Linked DNA regions of Homo sapiens: region 1 is linked to region 2. The links are contacts of gene promoters, found by promoter capture Hi-C in human tissues and cell types (Jung and others, 2019). All regions are on one chromosome and are shown on one strand. Each heading gives the region's core, a stretch centred on a gene start or on the middle of the fragment in contact. The rest is flanking DNA. Distances are from core to core; before and after follow the strand shown.

What was found. Contacts are between HindIII fragments. The study calls those that stand out against the background at their distance.
Region 1: a contact is called between a fragment that was not itself captured here and the fragment with the promoter of AFAP1L1 in region 2, in 1 of the 25 tissues and cell types used here (heart left ventricle).

Annotation. Positions count from the first base shown.
Region 1 is chr5:149,036,077-149,038,919 of GRCh38, reverse strand. SH3TC2 (SH3 domain and tetratricopeptide repeats 2) reads left to right here. Exons shown (of 17, transcript NM_024577.4): 8 at 430-625. Among named protein-coding and RNA genes, the nearest start is that of MIR584, 25 kb to the left of the region's middle. The HindIII fragment of the contact is 8,887 bases long and covers 1-2,843 here.
Region 2 is chr5:149,270,523-149,273,319 of GRCh38, reverse strand. AFAP1L1 (actin filament associated protein 1 like 1) reads right to left here and starts at 1,461. Exons shown (of 19, transcript NM_152406.4): 1 at 1,336-1,461. The coding sequence starts at 1,351. RefSeq lists enhancers at 1-400, 401-942, 943-1,482. The HindIII fragment of the contact is 7,342 bases long and covers 1-2,797 here.

The sequences.
Region 1 (2,843 bases), core at 139-2,638, 230 kb after region 2:
CTCTGGTCGAGTGGTTCTCACACACTGGTCTGTGGATTTGTGCCAACCATGACAAAGCATTTACATTACAGTGGCAAAATCAGACAAACCAGGACAATACAGTGAGCTTTCCAGTTTCCCATAAGCTATGTTTATTCATTTTTAAGGCATATCCGCTATCTGAGAATCTTTTTTTGTGTTTGTTAAAACATTTTTTCTTTGGTGAAAGTGGATTGTAGTTCTTTTAAAAATATGTCCTAGTTTGGCAAAATGAAAAGCAAATTGTCCTGTGTCATTCCTGCCAATTTTTGGGTGGGGAGGGGAGTGAAATGTTACTGGTCCTTGACATTCTAAAGTCTGGGAACCCCTCATTTTCTATTGCATTGGAAGGTGATGGGAGGCTCAGCTGTTCATGTCTTCTGTAGCTGATCTGTGTGCTATTTTCCACAGGCAGAGGACGCTGTAAGGCCTTGACGGGTTATGAGCCAGGAGAAAAGGATGAACTGAATTTCTACCAGGGAGAAAGCATTGAGATCATCGGCTTTGTCATACCTGGGCTTCAGTGGTTCATTGGAAAGTCGACAAGTTCAGGACAAGTGGGCTTTGTCCCCACCAGGAACATAGATCCTGATTCTTATTCCCCAATGTGAGTATTGACAGTGAGCATGTCCTGGAGCTGGGCTCCCTTTCCCAGGGTTCCCTCCCCTCTTTGAGCAGATTTGCAGTTGAGCTTCGAGGGTGCCCTGGTGACATGGAGCCAGAAAAGCACATGCTGACACCAAGGTTGATACAGAGAGTGATAGAAAGGAGAGAATGCGTCAGTTCAGTTTATTTTAACAGGTGGTCACTGAGGACTTCCTCTGTGCAAGGAGGGAAGCAAAACTCCAAGACAAAGGGCATGCTGTTAGGCACTGAGGGTGTGGTTTTGGTACTTGGATCCTGCTACCCACACTGTCTAACCACAGGGCCCCTTCAGAGGAAGGGCACACACGGGGAGAAATAGATTAGCAGCATGCTGATCCCACATAGGGCTGGGAGGTGGGTCCCATGTAGATCTTCACTCATTCAGCTTTCAAGCTGAATGCCAATGTGTGACTTCAGCATTGGCTAGGAGGGCAGAGTGTTTCTCTTACTCTTTTCTGCCTTGAATCCAGAAAGGCTGGTTCTGAGGAGCAGACCCATCTGCCTGGCCAATCAGGAGAAGGTGATCAGCCTGCTCCACCCACCCTGTCATGGAAGGACAGAGATATCGGGTATTGCTCCATCTTTTTGGAGTGGGCTTCCTATGTGGGGATAGGAAACAGTAGAAAGCCTGGGCGCAGGAAGTACACGAGGAAAGGGAGAGTTGGCTCCTAACACTGACACAACATAGCGCCCTACACTGGGAAAATGTGGCCCCAGAAATGTCTAACGATCTGAACAGAGACTTAAATTCTTTCTCTTGTGGGAAATAGCCAATGAAGAGAGCAGACCAAGGGGCAGAAGCTCCCTGTAAGCCCTGCCCTTCGTGGGGAGAGGAGGAGACAGAAGGTTATTTTTTTTCTATGTAGAAATGTGGGAGTCCAAATAACTATAAACAAGGAAGACCACTCACTGAGCTCCTGGAGAGGTATGGAGAACTATCGGGACTTGTAAGGAAGAAAAGGATATCAAGAGAACTTCATGAAGAAGGGGACATGTGAATTAAGCTTTGCACAATGTAAAATATTTCAACAGATGTTGATGGGAAAAGAGGTCATAGGTAGGAAAGTGAGTCAGTGCTTGAAGAACGACTCATGTAGTTTGGAGGAAGTTACCAGAAGGTCACTGGTGCAGCAAAGGTGGGTCCATGCTCTGGAAACCTGGGAATGCCTGTGTGAGGGCCCTTTCCTTAACCTGGCAGAGAATGGGGAGCTACTGCATGTCTCTGAGCAAGGGTGACATATTATATGACTGGACCTTTTCTCTAGGAAATGAAACCTGGCTTTGGGGGAGGCATGCATCATCAGGGGGAATCTGGAGGCAGGAGACCAGCGAGAAGCCCACGGTGGCACTTAGAAAAGGGTGAGAATGGAGAGGAAGGCCACTGCTGAGGACCAATGGACAGGAAGTCAAAGATTCCAGGAGCTTTACAAATATGGACACCTGTGTTCTGCCTCCAGAGGCTGTTGTGTAACTGGTCTGGATGGAGGCTGGGCAATTATATTGATAAAAGCTCCCCAGGTGGGGCTGGTGGGCAACCAAGGTGAGAACATTGCTCTGAACCACCCCTTCATGTTACCACAGGGGGAACAGAGGACCCCAGGGATGAAGGAGCTGAACCCAAGGCCTTCCCTCTGGAACTTTAGAATCCTGACATTAAATCCAGTGAGCTCTCATTAAATGTCCTGGTGATTTTAAATCCTGACATGAAATCCAATACATTCTGGTGAGAAGTCCCAGTGAAAGGGAGAAAGAAAAAAGAGGATGGAAAATAGGAATGGGGGAAGAACCCTGGAGGATGCCTCCATTTACAGAGCAGAGGAAGAGAGAACGCAGAGAGGAAACAGAGGAGCCACAGAGAGGAAGAAACAAGCTGCGGGGGAGGCGGGGCTGACACCTGTGCTGTCATCAGAGAGGTACAGCAGGGCCAAGTGAGGAAAGAAAGGCCTTTGGGACTGGCCATTGGTAGGTCTTCTGGAAGCACAGTAGCTACATGGCTTACAGAGTTGTGGAGTCAGGGTCCCCAAAAGGCATTCATGACCATGTGAGTGCAGCTTGTGCCTCCACTGGCTTACCAGCTCCTTGTCTTTGGACATATTCATTTATCTCTCCATGCCTCAGTTTTCTCATCTGTAAAATGTGTAGAATGTTAGCACTTGCCTAATAGGATTGCCGTGACTTTA
Region 2 (2,797 bases), core at 212-2,711:
TCGGGGGCTCAGCACAGCAAACAGGCAGATGGGGGAGAGGTGTGAGATTATCGTGGGGAGGGGAATGAATTTTCCATTATTAATAACAGCAACAACAACAACACTTCGCCTGTTGGCACAGCACTCACTAGTTTATCTAGTGCCGTCACACCTGTGATCTCTTTGGATCCCAGAGGTGCAGACTGAAACCCTGGGGTTCTGATTCCCAGCCTCTGACACTGTTCACATGTCCAAGCAGGCCACTTCTTTACAGACACACACATGCCCATCTGGCCATTGCCAAAGGCCATGTCTAGACCTTTACTTAAAATGTGCGCTGCCGGGCGCGGTGGCTCACGCCCGTAATCCCAGCACTTTGAGAGGCCGGGGCCGGCTGATCACCTGAGGTCAGGAGCTCCAGACCAGCCTGGCCAATATGGTGAAACCCCGTCTCTGTTAAAAATACAAAAATTAGCCGGGTGTGGTGGCGCATGCCTCTAATCCCAGCTATTCGGGAGGCTGAGGTAGGAGAATCGCTTGAACCCGGGAGGCGGAGGTTGCAGTGAGCCAAGATCGCGCCACTTCACTCCAGCCTGGGCAACAAGAGCGAAACTCCGTCTCAAACAAAACAAAACAAACAGAAAAAAATGTGCGCTAGCCCCCTACGAATGCTGCCCTCTCGGCTTATGTCAATCTCAATTTCAGTAAGTCCCCTCCACTTCTGTGAAACGTCTACCAAATACACTGGAAAAGGGTCGGCAAGGTGCCTTGGAGACCATCTAGTCCAACTTTGTCGCTGGTCCAGAGAGAAGGGCTGGGCCGAGGACACAGCTGGTGCGGGATAGAACCACCCCCGCCTCCTCCCTCCCTGGCGCACACATGCATGCACACGCGCGCCTGCTCACGGCGCTCCTCCTTCTCGCAATGCCCTAGGCAGCTGCAAACTTCGGTCCCCTAGAGCTTCTCCCTAGGGGCTGCCCACAGCGGGTGTTTCGGGAGTTGAACCTGTACACCTTGTTTTCCCCTTTAGAGTGGAATGAGGTGGGAGGAGCTCGCTGTCCTCCGGAAACTAGAGGGGGATCTTTTATGAAGTTACAAATCGTTAGCCTATGAAAACTCTGATTTCACACACGAGAGGCGAGTTGGCCCCAGGACACGGGCGTTGACACGCACCGGGTTGTCCCGGCAGCCGAAGGCACCTTTGCATAAGCGCCGCGTCTCCCAGTCCCCTCCGAGCGTTCCTCAGCCCCCGCCCCACCGCCCGCCTCTCTCCCTCCTCCTCTCCGGCTTCAGATCGTCCAGTCTCCCTTTCCCGCCCGGCGCCGCAACAAGTGCGGGCGTCGCGGCCCCTCTTACCCTGGCCTCGGTCCATGGCGCCGGCCCGGTCCCCGGGGAGCGGGCCGCAGGGCGCAGGGGCTCCGGCGCGGCTGGTAGCGGCCGGCGCGCTGCGCTCTCAGGCCAGCCCAGCGGCCGGCGCTCTCTGCGGTCCCCTCCCCCAGACAGGATGCTCGCCGGCAGCCCCCGCCCCGCCCGCGCCCGCGCCCGCCCCTCAGAGCCGCTCCCGGAATAGACCCGAGCACGCCTCGCCCCCTGGGCCGCAGCCCGCTGTCCCGTGGTGCCGCACACGCCCCGCCGCGCCCTGCCGCTCGCTCGCCCTCCGCGGCGCTCCCACTTGGGCTTGGAGGACCCTTTTCCCCGTCCGCACGCGTTCGTTCCCGCGCCCGCGCGGCCTGCCCCAGCCCGGACCCAGGAGGTGTGCGGCTTTGCTTGCACTCCGCTAGCGATGGGGTCTTACCACCGCACCCCTCAGCCGGCTCCATGCCGGAATGCGGAGACTGTTGGAGCGCGTTTTTATCCTAGGGAATCAAAACCCCCTTCCCTGCAGCCGCCACCCATTTCCTGGCTTTGGGCTTGTCTTCTCCATTCGCCGCGGGTCTTTCTTGAGCACCTTCTAAGCCAGACAGTGGGCCCGCGGCGATGCCGGTGCAATGTCAGTGGTGTTGCGAAAGAGGAGTTAAATAATAACAAAGATCTTCAGAAAGAAAAGCACCTGGGAAAGGGAGAAAGAGAGGCTTGCTGAAAGGTGGGCAAGGGCTTGGGACACTTTCAACTTTTGAGGTTCCTTGTGTACTAAAACGTGAAAACATAACGAGGATCTGGGAGAATTCAGAAAAAGAATAGAAAAATGAGTAACACGTGAAAACATGCAGAACAGGGTGATAAAAAATGTGGAAATGAATACTTTTAGCATACAAAATACAGTGCAATATAAGTGTACTTTTCGCAAGATTGTAGAAAATATTGCTATGACCAGTGTGGAACAGTAATGGGATCTAAGTTTAAAGCTGTATGAAGAATGTCAACTTCTTCACCTTATTAGTATATCCCTGTGAAAATAGGTCTCACTCATTTATACACAATATCAAATGTCTGACTTTAAGACCCTTCATAAAGTCCAGGACCAATTGTTCTCCTAGACACTGCTCCTCCCACCATGGGCCAGGCCATGGTTTTCAGCTTTGAGCTGACCACTGTTCCCTACTTAGAACATTCTGGAACAGGGAACAGCTACCACAGAGGTATGGAGGCAACAAAAGGCCTGGGAAAGACCCTCCTGTACTTTCCTGGACTGGGAATATTTTCTTTTCTTCTTTTTTTTTTTTCTTGAAAAGTCTCCCTTTGTCGCCGAGGCTGGAGTGCAGTGGCGCGATCTCGGCTCACTGCAACCTCTGCCTCCCGGGTTCAAGCAATTCTCCTGCCTCAGCCTCCTGAGTAGCTGGAATTACAGGCGCCCACCATCACTCCGGGCAAATTTTTG